Regions from separate parts of the Homo sapiens genome. Here regions 1, 2, 3 and 4 are each linked to region 5. The links are contacts of gene promoters, found by promoter capture Hi-C in blood cells and fetal thymus (Javierre and others, 2016). All regions are on one chromosome and are shown on one strand. Each heading gives the region's core, a stretch centred on a gene start or on the middle of the fragment in contact. The rest is flanking DNA. Distances are from core to core; before and after follow the strand shown.

Region 1 (2,700 bases), core at 6-2,505, 3.9 Mb before region 5:
AACTGCAAAGACCTAAAAGTTGAAGCTATGGGACAGATTATTGTAATCACTGAGGTAAAGGGTTACAGGAAGAAAAACGATCTTTCCCATCAGTAACTAAGTGTATTCCTTCTGGAACTTGAATCTCTTATCCAGAGAGAGGTTTCGGAATGGGTCTTTTCAATTGAGCCTTACACCATAATTTCATACAATTTCAAATTCACAAAAATGCTTTACTGTACAATACAGCTGACCCAGGAATGAAAATGAACTGTTTTTGGCCTAGGGTTTCTGTAACTATGTAAAAAAGTCTATGGGAGGCCGGGCACGGTGGCTCACGCCTGTAATCCCAGCACTTTGGGAGGCCGAGGCGGGTGGATCACGAGGTCAGGAGATTGAGACCATCCTGGCTAACACGGTGAAACCCCGTCTCTACTAAAAATACAAAAAATTAGCCGGGCGCGGTGGCAGGCGCCTGTAGTCCCAGCTACTCGGGAGGCTGAGGCAGGAGAATGGCGTGAACCCAGGAGGCGGAGCTTGCAGTGAGCCGAGATACCGCCTGGGTGAAAGAGCGAGACTCCGTCTCAAAAAAAAAAAAAAAAAGTCTATGGGACACACTATAGCAAGTTAAGAGCTTTAAAGAACTTCATTGTGTTCTTCAGCTAAATTTATTTCCCATTCACCCAGTGGCCAAAGGAGAAAAGGTTATTAAACTTCATAGTAGTATCCTCAAAAAGCAATTGTGTATGATTTTAAAAAACAAAACTATTATTCTAGATTGATTTCTAAAATGCTTCCTATCAGTAACATAACACCTTTAAATGTGTTAATAATAAGCTTTATTCTAAAATCATCAAGACAAAAATTTAGAACCTAACACTATTTGCTTGGTATTACTTTTTAAAAAAGGGCTAGGAATCATGGCTCATGCCCGTAATCCCAGCACTTTAGGATGCCCAAGTGGGAGGATCGTTTGAGCCAGGAGTGTGAGACCACCCTGGACAACATCGTGAGACCTTGTCTCTACAAAAAATTTTTTTAAATTTGCTGGGTGTCCTGGCACACCTGCCTGTACTCCCAGCTACTTGGGGAGACTGAGGTGAGAGGACTGCTTGAGCCCAGGAAGTTGAGGCTGCAGTGAGCCATGATCACCACTGCACTCCAGCCTGGGTGGACAGAGTGAGACCCTGTCTAAGGAAGAATCAACGTTTCTCCTTTTTCAAAATAAGCTGTCAACAAATTAAAAATGAAGAGACAAAACCAGAAGAGGTTCTTATCAATTTTGTTTAAGAAAGCATAATGTCTGCTGGGCATGGTGGCTCACGCCTGTAATCCCAGCACTTTGGGAGGCCGAGGGGGGTGGATCACCTGAGGTCAGGAGTTCAAGACCAGCCTGGGCAACATAGCGAAACCCCGTCTCTACTAAAAATACAAAAATTAGCTGGGCATGGTGGCATGTGCCAGTTATCCCAGCTACTCGGGAGGCTGAGGCAGAAGAATCGCTTCAGCCCCGGAGGCAGAGGTTGCAGTGAGCCAAGATTGCACCACTGCACTCCAGCCTGCGTGACAGAGTGGGACTCTGTATCAAAAAAAAAAAAAAAAAAAAAAAAAAGAAGAGAGCGCATAATGTCACAAGAACATCAACGTTGGACTAAGACAAACTTTAAATACTACCTTCATCTTGACCGTCCTTGGGTGAACTACTTAAAGCTTTTGAACCTCACTCTACTCATCTGTGAAATGGTAATAGAACTACCTCTTACAACAACAAATTAAGTAATGAATGTATCTAACTGAGCCAAGCATATATAAAGTATGGTACTAGACACATCTTAACAGCTTCTCTTCCTTAAATTTGCAATCTAGAATGGAAATTTCAAAAACTTAAAAGTATTCAAAACTTAATATTTTTTTTTAGAGATGAGGTCTCGCTATGTTACCAGGCTGGTCTACAACTCCTGGGCTCAAGCGATCCTCCACACCTTGGCATCCAGAGTAGTTGGCATTACAGGTGCAAACCACCGTGCCCAGCTTAAGAGCTTATTTTTGAAAATTACCAATAAGGCAGTAGAACGAGTAATATTAAAATATCACTTTTAAGTCCTCTCTGTTTTCTGATCCCATACTGGACACATCCTCCTCCCCCAAAATGAAAATAACCTTTAGATATCTCAAGTGACAAGAACGTTAAAATTTCACTTTACTGGTTACTTGAATTTAACCTAAAGGTTTTGTCAGTTTTTAAATTAGTAAATATAGTGATAAAATTTATATGTAAAATATCTACATAATATTCTTACAAAACATCAAAAATCAAATTAGAATTTTCATTCATTTAACCATAAAACATTTTGCTACTAGGCGGCACAGGCTTTAAGACACACAACCTCCTCATTCCTCTTTATGAAGCTTAGTGCCCTGAGAGTGCCAGATAATAAGGCATCTTGTTATCTCATTTTTAAAAAACTTTTTTATTTTAGGCCTTTACAACACATGGCAGGTCTATATTAACTCCCACACCGAGTAGTCTCTCTTCAGCTAGATTTCTAGCCACTTGAGCTACTAATCATCACTTAAGAATGGTAGAATAAAAACACGACAATCTCTTTTTAAGCTTTTTAGCACGCCTCAATTTTAAATATGTTTGTGCACTCCTGTACACTTTCAGTCACCTAAATAAAATAGGATTATTTATCAAGATTATACATTGAATACTGTACA
Region 2 (2,700 bases), core at 139-2,638, 4.4 Mb after region 5:
CGGGACAAATCAGAACTTGAAGATAAAAAGGTAGAAGAGGGGAAATTAAGATCTCCAGATCCTGGCATCCTGGCTTATAAGCCAGGCTCAGAATCTGTACATACGGTGGACAAGCCTACAAGTCCTTCTGCGATACCTGATGTTCTTCAAGTTTCAACTAAACAAAGTATTGCTAACTTTCTTTCTCGTCCCACGGAAGGTGTACAAGCTTTAGTAGGTGGTTATATTGGTGGACTTGTCCCCAAATTAAAGTATGATTCAAAGAGTCAGTCAGAAGAACAGGAAGAGCCTGCTAAAACTGATCAGGCTGTCAGCAAAGACAGAAATGCAGAGGAGAAAAAGCGTTTATCTCTTCAGCGAGAAAAGGCAAGTTGTTCAGTGTGCTTTTCGGTTCTATTACTTTTTGTCAAATTTATAAGTTTTATTTCCTAATGAGAACTAAGAAACTTTCATTGTTCTTTAGAGCAGTTTTGTATTCTAATCATATCTATTTAATATGTCTTTGTAGATTATCGCAAGGGTGAGTATTGATAACAGGACCCGGGCATTAGTTCAGGCATTAAGAAGAACAACTGACCCAAAGCTCTGCATTACTAGGGTTGAAGAACTGACTTTTCATCTTCTAGAATTTCCTGAAGGAAAAGGAGTGGCTGTCAAGGTAATTTCTAATTTATTTAATCTAGTTTTGTCTTGGAATAGAAGTACTAAAAAAAATCTAAAATGGAGAAGGCAAAGCCTTTCATTTTTCCATTTGAATTTTGTGGTTTTTATTATACATGTGATGTGTATTCAGTAATTACCCTATTTATTTTGTGACATACATTATGCTAATCAATTCATTTTATTTTGTTAGCACCAATATGTATACTTTGAAATTAAACATTTATAAAATAGAAAATAATCAGTTTATTAGTTGAATTGCCTAACAGCTGCCAGATTTTTCTTTAGTGCAATGTAAATATTTATACTATGTAACTGTTCTTTTAAGATAGGAGACATAATTCATATGTGAGGCTGTTGTTTTTATTTCATGGTCCTTTCGTATTTGAAAGTCTAAAAATTTGAATGACCTTACTCATAATTGAATTAGTAATCATATTAAGTAAAACAATGAGCTTTTCTTTGCCTCAGTTTTTTCAACTATAAAATAATGAAGATAATTTAGACCCACTTAAATGGACTGTTTTCAGAGAAGTGCTATAAAATATGACTAATGTGATTGAGTCTCTTTACATCTATATTATTAAGATTATTTGTAATATTTAATGAAAAATTTGAAAATATCATAATGATAGATACTGCTTACATTTCATTAGAAATCTATTAGTGCTTATTTTTAGCTTGGCATTCAGAAAATTGTTTTAACTTAGAACACATTTATTCTACTTTTTAACAATTACCTTGTTGAAAAATTGTCTTTGAATAATGTACCCATCCTTACTTGTGTATTGTATAACACATACATTATTATAGGTAGCTTCACTATTTTATGGTCCTATAATTTGGGATTATATTTTATATTTATATAATCTTACATAAAAGATAAGATTCTCAAATATACATATGCTTTTAAGTATATTTCACATTTCAGTGATATACTGAAAGCAAAGATCTTAAATAGAATTACATACTGGCTTAGTCCATTTGGGCTGTCATAATAAAATACCTTAGCTTGGGTAATTTATAAACAACAGAAATTTATTTCTCATAGTTCTGGAGGCTGGGCAGTCCAAAATCAAGGCACCAACAATTTGATGTCTGGTGAGAGTCCCGTTCCTCCTAGACAGCAGCTTCTCATGACCTACTTAGATGGCAGAAGGGGCAAGGTGGCTCACTTCAACCTCTTTTACAAGGCCAGTTGTACTACTGATGGATTTCTGAGTAGTTTTCAGTTGCAGTTTAAATAGTCTTGCTAATTGAAACTCTGAGGACTCTTTTATCTTGCATAACTAATCCCAAATCTAAGGACCTTTCAATACTATGAAAAAATGTAATATAGGAATATATATTCAGATCAATTATGAATAAAAATCTAGGTAGTCTGAAAAAAGTTGTCACCCTTCCCTTAAATAATCATCTGAAAAACAGTGAACTGGACAAATTGCATATAACGTGTCAGCATGTACACTCTAGTGTGAACTTTTCCAGCTAAACTTTTTGTTATTATCAAGAGTTGAGCTTTTTAAAAATGATAGAATTTTTATAAAACATCTGTATCAATTTTACTTTTTTATGTGTCTACCATATTTAAGGTAGCTAAATACAGGGAATTATGTCTGATACGTAATGCCCTAAAAAAAAATGAGTTACTTATTTTGTATGCTACATTTATGGCAGCCACATTTAGGGAATTGTCTGTGATAATTTTTTCACTGTGATGAAGGTGGTCTCCTTTCATTATGTTTTTTAATTAAAAAGAAGAACTTTGACTGTTTAGAAAGAAGGCAGCACAAAGCATTGTAGGGAATTAGAAGAAAGAAAAGATAAGAAAATAAAAATAATATATTTTACCCTCAGATTACCACTGTAATGTATTAGAGTTTATTTGTGTTCATTGGATTAAGCTTCCTTAAGCTCTAATAGCAAACAACACCGAAATCTCAGTGACTTAACAAAACAGTTTTATTTCTGGCTCATGCAAAGTTAACTGTGGGTTTGGGTGACTCTTTGGCACAGTGAACCTCCGTGTGGTGGTTACTT
Region 3 (2,700 bases), core at 153-2,652, 4.4 Mb after region 5:
AAAATTAGTCGGGAGTGGTGGCACATGCCTGTAACCCCAGCTACTTGGGAGGCTGAGGCAGGAGAATCACTTGAACCTGGGAGGCAGAGGTTGCAGTGAGCCAAGATCACACCACAGCACTTCAGCCTGGGCAACAGAGCGAAACTCCATCTCAAATAAAAAAGTAAAAGAGGCCGGGTGTGGTAGCCCACACCTGTAATCCTAGCACTTTGGGAGGCAGAGGCGGGCAGATCACCTGAGGTCAGGAGTTCAAGACCAGCCTGGCCAACATGGTGAAACCCCGTCTCTACTAAAAATACAAAAATTAGCTGGGCGTGGTGGCAAGCACCTGTAATCCCAGCTACTTGGGAGGCTGAGGCAGGAGAATTGCTTGAACCTGGGAGGTGGAGGTTGCAGTGAGCCGAGATCGCGCCACTGCACTCCAGCCTGGGCGGCAGAGTGAGACTCTGACTCAAAAAAAAAAAAAAAGTAAAAGAAAGAAAGAAAAGAAATTAACATGCAATTGAATATGGGGGCATTTTTAGACTTATTCCAACTTTTCAACTGGATGAGTTGTCATAGAAATAAGCAAGGCATGGAATAACCTACAAAAGTATTAGGTAAAAGGTAAAATCTAACTCAGATTCAAAAGTAAGTTGGAGAAAATACAATTATGTGTCCTTAATATCTTAATTTTATGTTGCTACTCTTGTGCCAAAACCTTAGCTATAACCTGTCTATTAATAAAACTATTCTTTCTTCACCCAGAAAATCACCTTATATATAACTGGTTTATTTCCCACTGGTTTAGTTCCTCTAAGATGTCCCAGCAGGAAGCTGGATAAACTGGTCTCAAGCCTGATAGAGAGGCCTGAACTGCAGGTATAAATAGGCAAATTCTTTAAGGCAGTTTTTAAGGTGGAGAAAGAATGATTTTTTTATTAAAAGGTTAAATAGGAAAACAGTAAATATGACAACAACAGGACTCCTCATCTTCTTCAAATCTTGCCCTCTCATGGTACCAAAAAAATGTACTTAAAACTTAAATTCCACCATGTTATTCTTTTGTCTTAGAATCTGACAGTGGTTCTGATCACCCAGAAGATCAGGTCCAAGTTCTTCAGCTCTCACCCAATCCTTATATTACATTTCCAGTACAAACATGGAACACATAGTTCCCTTCATGCACTATGTTTTTTCCTGCCTTATTGCCTTTTATTACAAACATCACTTCTCTCTGTAAAGCTCTCTCCTTTCTCTTCCCACTTTTACCACTCCACTACTGCCATCTGTCTTGCTAGCAACATCTTTTAAGACTTGGTTCAGAAGTTCCTTCCCAACACCACAGGCTGGGGTAGGTATTCCTGCTCTAGACTCATAATATCCAGTTCATGTCTCCATTAGTGCTCTTTCTACATTAATAGTATTATTACCTAAGGTTATATTTTGAGTTCCGTGACAGTGCTTCAATTTTTTACCTCCAGCAAATAGCTTGGTGCCAGGCACATAGTAAGCACTCAGTAGATAATGGCTGAATGAATAAATTCAATTCTTTCAATATGCACTCACCAAATAGTTACTGAACAATTAACTTTTTTTTTTTTCTTTTTCAAACGGAGCCTCACCCTGTTACCCAGGCTGGAGTGCATTGGCGCGATCTCGGCTCACTGCAACCTCCTCCTCCCGGGTTCAAACCATTCTCCTGCCTCAGCCTCCTGAGTAGCTGGGATTATAGGTGCCCGCCACCACGCCCAGCTAATTTTTGTATTTTTAGCAGAGATGGGGTTTCACCATGTTGGCCAGACTGGTCTCCAACGCCTGACCTCAGGTGATCCACCCGCCTCTGCCTCCCACAGTGCTGGGATTACAGGCATGAGCCAACGCTCCGGGCCACACTTTATTAATAATTGCTGTGCCTTGGTGCTAAGGATCAAAACAGAAAATCCTTGCTTTCATGTTTTCAAACTATATAAAGATAATTATATTAATTTCCTATTGCTGCTGAAACAAAACACTTCAAATTTAGTGGCTTAAAACAACTCAAGTTTATTATGTCACAGTTCTGTAGGTCAGAAGTCCAGCAAGAGTTGACTGGTTCCTCTGTTCCAGGTCTCATAAGGGTGAAATCAAGGTGTCAGCTTACCTGAGCTTTTGTCTGGTACCTCTGGGGAAGAGTGTGCTTTCAGTTTTATTTAGGTTGTTGACAGAATTCAACTCCTTGCGGCTGTGTGGCTGAGGTCTCCATTTCCTTGCTGGCTGTCAGTCAGGAGCCGCTCTTGGTTCCCTATGGCAACCTGCATTCCTTGTCAAATTGTTCCTCTCATTATCTTGATCTCTCTGACTTTCGCTTTGCCACATCTGTACTGATTTTAAGGATTTATGTGATTAGATTGGGCCCACAGAGATAATCCAGGATTATTTTCCTTTCTTAAAATCTGTACCCTTAATTACATCTGCAAAAAGTCCCCTTTGCCATGTAAAGTAGCATATTCACAGGTTCTAAGGATTTGGGCATGGGCATTTTTTAGAAGGCCATTCTTCAGCCTACCATGGTGATTATTCTTCTAGAATTATTTTCTGGCATATCCCTCCCTTAGGTGATCTGGAGAGATATCTTGCACCAATATGGCTTAATTTATTTTGGTTATAATGTTAAGTTTTATTTGAACAATAAAGATATTAGCAGCTCTTTTAAAAAGCTATGAACCAGACCAGAAAGGA
Region 4 (2,700 bases), core at 198-2,697, 4.4 Mb after region 5:
ACTGCTCTTAAGGCTGAGGCACTTAAGGAACAAATCACAGGCATGCATGTGCCATTTCTGTGGAATCCTCCAGGGCAGCTGAGTGGGAGGATAGCCCTGCCATTCATTAATCAGACACCCTGCGTTCTTCCAACCTCAGGGGTTTTTTCTCTCCTCCTGGGCAGCAGTTTCTATCTTGTGATCTAAACATTAGCTTCCCTTGTGCTTCTATCTTTCTCCTTCCTTCTCTGGGGGAACTCAGTGTAACTCCTTGTTGCCCTTGACACTTGATAAAATGTCCATGTGAGTGGCAAGTGCTAGAATTCAATTCAAATTGGCTTAAGTGAAAAGGAGACTTTTTTGTCTCATATAACTGAAGTGTTCAAGGAAAGATGGTTTCAGGCACAGCTGGACCTAGGGCTAAATGGCTCTGAAATCCTCTATGAAGCTCTTTTCAGGTCCCATAAAGTAGCCATTGGTGATATCAGGTTCACATCAGTCTTTTCTGTTAGCAGTCCCAGCTGAAACATACTTTATAGATTGTCAAACATGAATTCATAGAGATTTCTTTTGACCTCCTATATGACCAATTTGAAAATATTCTAGAAGTGGAGGAAAAGACAGAATTGTTTTGTTTGTAACTAACAAATAGGGGAAATTTTCAGTATACCATTTATTATGGCTTGAAAATGAAATTTCAATTGCATGTCACTGTGCCAATACAAGCAGCTCAGAGGAATTGAGACAGGGAGGAGTTGCTCTTTTAAAGGTCCTCAGCTGGGCATGATGGCTCATGCCTGTAATCCCAGCACTCTGGGAGGTGGAGATGCAAGGGTTACTTGAGGCCAGGAATTCAAGACCAGCCTGGGCAACATAGTGAGACTCTGTCTCTACAAAAAAAAAAAAAAAAAGAACATAAAAATTAAAAAATTAGCCAAGTGTGGTGGCATATGCCTTGCAGTCCAGGCTGAGGCTGGAGGATGGCTTGAACCCAGGAGTTCAAGATTGCAGTGAGCTATGATCGTGATCATGCCACTGCCTGGCTGACCCTGTCTCTTAAAAAAAAAAAAAAGATAAATAAAAGTCCTTAAAAAATAAACTCACACAGAAGATGTCTACATAAAAAGAGTTCACACTTGATTTTAACTTTCTAACAAGGTAAAAGTCTTCTTTCTTTTAAGTTCCCCTCTGATCTCATAACTGAGGGGATGTGACCTAGTTTTCTAAGTATCTCAAGATCCACCAGTATTGATATATAAACTGATTTTGTTTCCTTCCAATAATAATTCCTTATAAGATAGTATCTCTGACAGTTTGGACAATGGCATTTGAACAGAAAATTATTTTCTCACACTAAAATATCTGGAAGAAAAATAATGATAGAAAAGTTATAGAAAAAGAGATGTTATCATTTGGGATTAAAAAAACATATTGTGAGGTGGGCACGGTGGCTCACGCCTGTAATCCCAGCACTTTGGGAGGCCAAGGCGGGTGGATCACCTGAGGCCAGGAGTTCGAGACCAGCCTGGCCAACATGGTGAAACCCTGTCTCTACTAAAAACACAAAAATTACCCAGGTGTGGTGGTGCACACCTGTAATCCCAGCTACTCAGGAGGCTGAGGCGGGAGAATCACTTGAACCCAGGAGGTGGAGGTTGCAGTGAGCCAAGATCACATCATTGCATTCCAGCCTGGGCTATAGTGCGAGACTCCATCTCAAAAAAAAAAAAAAAAAAAAATTTAAAAAAAAATTTAAAAAAAATTTGTGGATGACTAAACCTGTATCCCAATATCTTTATTAACAGATATCATTTATTTGGTATAAGGAAGATGTCCCAATGCAGATGAGTCTAGTTTATCATATAAGTAAAGGATTTTGTAACTTTTCAGAAAATCAAATTATGAGATATACACATATGACGTCGAATTTACTTATTCACTAAATAGTTATGGAAAATTTACCCTATACCAGTCACAGATATAGGCACTTGAGACACAGCAGTGGAAGATCCCTACCTCCAAGTAGCTTATATTCTATCAGGAGGAAACAGATAATAACATAATAAGTAATGAAATAAGGTGATAAGTGCTGTGTGAAAATAAAAACAGAGTAAGATAAAGGGATGGAGAGTGTGAGGGAGGAGGGACACAGTGTGGTATTAAATAGGGTGGCCAGAAAGGCCCCATTGAAGAGGTGACAGGTGAGCCAAGACTGGAAGAAGCTGAAGGGATTGGCTGTATAATCAAGAATGCTCCAAACAGAGGAACCAGCTAGTGCAAAGGCCCTAAAGAGAAAGCAAGCCTGGCGTGTTCCTGGAAGAGTGAGGATTCCTGTCTGGCTAGTACAGAATGAAGAAGGGTGTGATGGTTAATATTGAGTGTCAACTTGACTGGATTAAAGGATGCAAAGTATTGTTCCTGGATGTTCTGTGAGGGTGTTGCCAAAGGAGATTAACATTTGAGTCAGTGGACTGGGAGAGGCAGACCCATCCTCAATCTGGGTGGGCACCATCTAATCAGCTGCCAGTGCAGCTAGAATAAAGCAGGCAGGAGAAGACAGAAGAGTAGACTTGCTGAGTCTTCTGGCCTTCATCTTTCTCCTGTGCTGGATGCTTCCTGCCCTGGAACATAAGACTCCAAGTTCTTGAGCTTTAAGAGTCTTGGACTTATACCAGTGGTTTGCCAGGGGTTCTCGAGCCTTTGGCCACAGATTGATCCACC
Region 5 (2,700 bases), core at 25-2,524:
TTCACTGTGCTGTAGGGACACATCTTCCGCCTTTAAATTCCATCAATCTCCCTTCACCTCCCGCTTCTCCTGTGTCCTAGACAGTGTGTATAATTCTTTGCTCTTCAGCGTATTCAATATAAAGAAGGTAGCATATAAAACAGTTACATAATGCAAGCTTTATTCGTAGTTAGAAAATCATTATCAAAATGTTACCATTGCAATCATTTCCATAGACTGTCACGTAACCAACACCTGCAATGGGGAAGTGGTACACAATCCAACACAACTCATTAGGGGCTCTCAGTCTATTCAATCTCTGACACTCCAGCAGCCTCAGTACCACTTCAGGAGCCAATGCAGTCTACCTCTCTCCAGAGAGCAGTGTTCCACCTTTCTGGGACAGAAGTCAACAATCGCGTTCCCCAAGAGATGGAAAAGAAGTGGAGGAGGGTGAACAGGTTACCAAACCCACTTAGATACACTCCGCATAGACTAACTCTCCAAATTAAAGGACAGGAGGTCACCTGAGCTGACCATAAAAGCTCAGAGTGCTGATGCGAATAAGATCAGGGAAGGCTGCTTATTAACACCGTGGTCACTACAAAAGTTCTTGAGGGCATCTGCTGTGAGTTTTCCATCGTTCCTTATTGTCCTCCTGCATCTCCTGTTGCTTTTCTTGGCCCTCTCCTTTTCGCATTTTCTATGTCCTTTGCCCAGCAGTAGTACTGCAGGCATAAACCATTGTCGACCTGAGAATTAAATTAGCATTTGGTAGCCAGACCTCTCCTTGAGCCTTAGAATGCTTGTGTGCTTGAGGTCCCTGAAGTGTAACGTCATCTCAAAGCGCAAGTAACTAAAGGGAACCTACATGTGACAAGGTGCAGCGGAGGTTCAAGCAGAGCACCCTGGCCGCATCGCAACAGATTATAAAGTGTAGGGGATGAAAATGATGGAAGACATCAGAAAGCCGAGCTGTAAAAAAGCCCAAACTAAGCAAACTGAGACGCGCAAGCGCGTTGCTCACAGCTCGTCTCCCGAGGCCGAGCCACAGCGCCTGCGCACAGAATCCGGGGAGGGTGGGGAAGAGATGAGCACCCAGGCCTGGAGCTCCCACTGCCTCAGCCTCCCTATCCCCGCAAGCTCCGCCTCCTCCAGCTGCTCGCCTTCCCAAACAACCGGGTTCGCCGCCGGCGCTTTCTGCCCATTGGCCCTTAGCCTTTTCCGTTTCCGCCCAGCCCTCAAAATCCACCAATCAGTTTGCACTTTTGGGTGAGGGTCCACCTCCAAGGCTGTCGCTCCGGTTCCTCTGCCTCCTCTGGCTGCTGCCTCCGCAGCTCCCTCCTCCTACCCCACCTCCTCCATCTGGGGAGCGTCTGCGGGGGCCTGAGGGGCGGCGGCGGCGGCGGCGGCTGCGATATGGAGCCAGGGGCCGGCGGCCGAAATACTGCTCGTGCGCAGAGGGCCGGGTCCCCGAACACTCCGCCGCCCCGGGAGCAGGAGCGGAAACTGGAGCAGGAGAAGCTCTCCGGTGTGGTGAAGAGCGTCCACCGGCGGCTCCGCAAGAAGTACCGAGAAGGTAAACAGCGCGCTGAGTGAGGGAGGAAGGGGAGGCCTCATCACCCCCAACCGCTTGTCACCTCTTCCCTCCTCCAAAGAGGCCACCATTAAAATGTAAAGGATCTGCACGTCCCCCCAGCCGCTGCTGCTCTCCCGGGCCTGGTCTGAGCCCCCTAGTCGGCATCAGACGCGCTCCTCCCCGCCCCCTTTTCTTTGAGGGCCCTTCGGGAGAGTTCTAGGCCTGTAAAGGAATTGAGTCCCCACCCCCTCCAAGCCCCTGTCCCCAGCCGGGGTGCTGAGGTTGTTGTCTCGGCACACACAAACACATACACGCTCACAGAGGAGGTGGGGGTCGCTTTTTGCAAGAGACGCCGAGGTAAAACAAGACAGGTAAAATCCATTTGTAAAAGACGAAAAGAAACCTGAGTTGTCCCTCCTTTACGCTTGACCTACCGGCTGTACCATTTGCTTCCTTATCAGACCCCCTTCCTAGTACTTCATTCCTACAACCATGCCGAGCCTTCCTCGCATTGGCTTCCAGGGCTGGGAAGCCAGCAGGCCTTTTAGCTGACTGGACTTCACATTGTTAAAAGGGGGCGGGCTACACTCGTGGCCCCCACTCCCATTTCTTAAATACTTGGTCTTAACTGTTTATTTAGGCGATGAGGAAGAGATCTGGGCAGGTTCTGAAAATACCGTTTGTATTGGAAGCCTCCTAAAGACACCTGCCGATAAAGCCCACCCTCGGCTTCCATGGATGGGGTTCCGGTGAGAACCCCCTCTGTGGAAGCTCATAGGGGAAGAAGCCTTAGTGGCTTTTGCCTGTGCCTGAAGAGTGTTTATAGTTGGAGTCTACAGTTATCCTTGATATCTTTAAATATAGGCTTTTGTACACAGCTGTTTTATAAGATTTTGACAGTGAAAATTCTGTTTTCATAGGCTTGGGAGAGAGACTTCTCCTGAGTATCGAAATGAGGAAAGCTTTCCACTGGTTCTCATTTTAGCTTAATTGCAAACTGAAAAGTCAGCAGCCTTCTGGTGTTAGTCCTATACTTAGTTAATAATTTAGGATTAGAAGGAAAATTATGGCAGTGAAGGAATACAGACAGGTAAGATCATGTTACTGTTGATTTATACACACGTTTCAACTACTCTAGAAAG

What was found. Contacts are between HindIII fragments. The CHiCAGO score rates a contact against its expected background, and 5 or more counts as called.
Region 1: a fragment that was not itself captured here is called in contact with the fragment with the promoter of SAMTOR in region 5 in 1 of 17 cell types (activated CD4 T cells); the score reaches 5.9 in activated CD4 T cells.
Region 2: a fragment that was not itself captured here is called in contact with the fragment with the promoter of SAMTOR in region 5 in 6 of 17 cell types (total CD4 T cells, naive CD8 T cells, non-activated CD4 T cells and 3 more); the score reaches 17.9 in total CD4 T cells.
Region 3: a contact is called between a fragment that was not itself captured here and the fragment with the promoter of SAMTOR in region 5, in 7 of 17 cell types (total CD4 T cells, non-activated CD4 T cells, naive CD4 T cells and 4 more). The highest score is 24.5, in total CD4 T cells.
Region 4: a contact is called between a fragment that was not itself captured here and the fragment with the promoter of SAMTOR in region 5, in 1 of 17 cell types (total CD4 T cells). The highest score is 8.4, in total CD4 T cells.

What each region holds. Positions count from the first base shown.
Region 1 is chr7:116,864,069-116,866,768 of GRCh38, reverse strand. The region is part of intron 1 of CAPZA2 (capping actin protein of muscle Z-line subunit alpha 2); the gene reads right to left. Among named protein-coding and RNA genes, the nearest start is that of CAPZA2, 2.8 kb to the right of the region's middle. The HindIII fragment of the contact is 873 bases long and covers 819-1,691 here.
Region 2 is chr7:108,512,102-108,514,801 of GRCh38, reverse strand. PNPLA8 (patatin like domain 8, phospholipase A2) reads left to right here. Exons shown (of 11, transcript NM_001256007.3): 3 at 1-366; 4 at 509-658. Among named protein-coding and RNA genes, the nearest start is that of PNPLA8, 13 kb to the left of the region's middle. The HindIII fragment of the contact is 2,356 bases long and covers 211-2,566 here.
Region 3 is chr7:108,529,088-108,531,787 of GRCh38, reverse strand. LOC124901722 (a long non-coding RNA gene) reads right to left here. Exons shown (of 2, transcript XR_007060473.1): 2 at 2,006-2,337. Among named protein-coding and RNA genes, the nearest start is that of PNPLA8, 4.3 kb to the right of the region's middle. The HindIII fragment of the contact is 4,198 bases long and covers 1-2,700 here.
Region 4 is chr7:108,587,462-108,590,161 of GRCh38, reverse strand. No RefSeq gene overlaps it. Among named protein-coding and RNA genes, the nearest start is that of DNAJB9, 19 kb to the right of the region's middle. The HindIII fragment of the contact is 6,518 bases long and covers 1-2,700 here.
Region 5 is chr7:112,938,449-112,941,148 of GRCh38, reverse strand. It overlaps SAMTOR (S-adenosylmethionine sensor upstream of mTORC1), which reads left to right and starts at 1,274. Exons shown (of 5, transcript NM_152556.3): 1 at 1,274-1,558. The coding sequence starts at 1,399. RefSeq lists enhancers at 806-1,145, 800-1,316 and a silencer at 1,346-1,445. The HindIII fragment of the contact is 2,363 bases long and covers 160-2,522 here.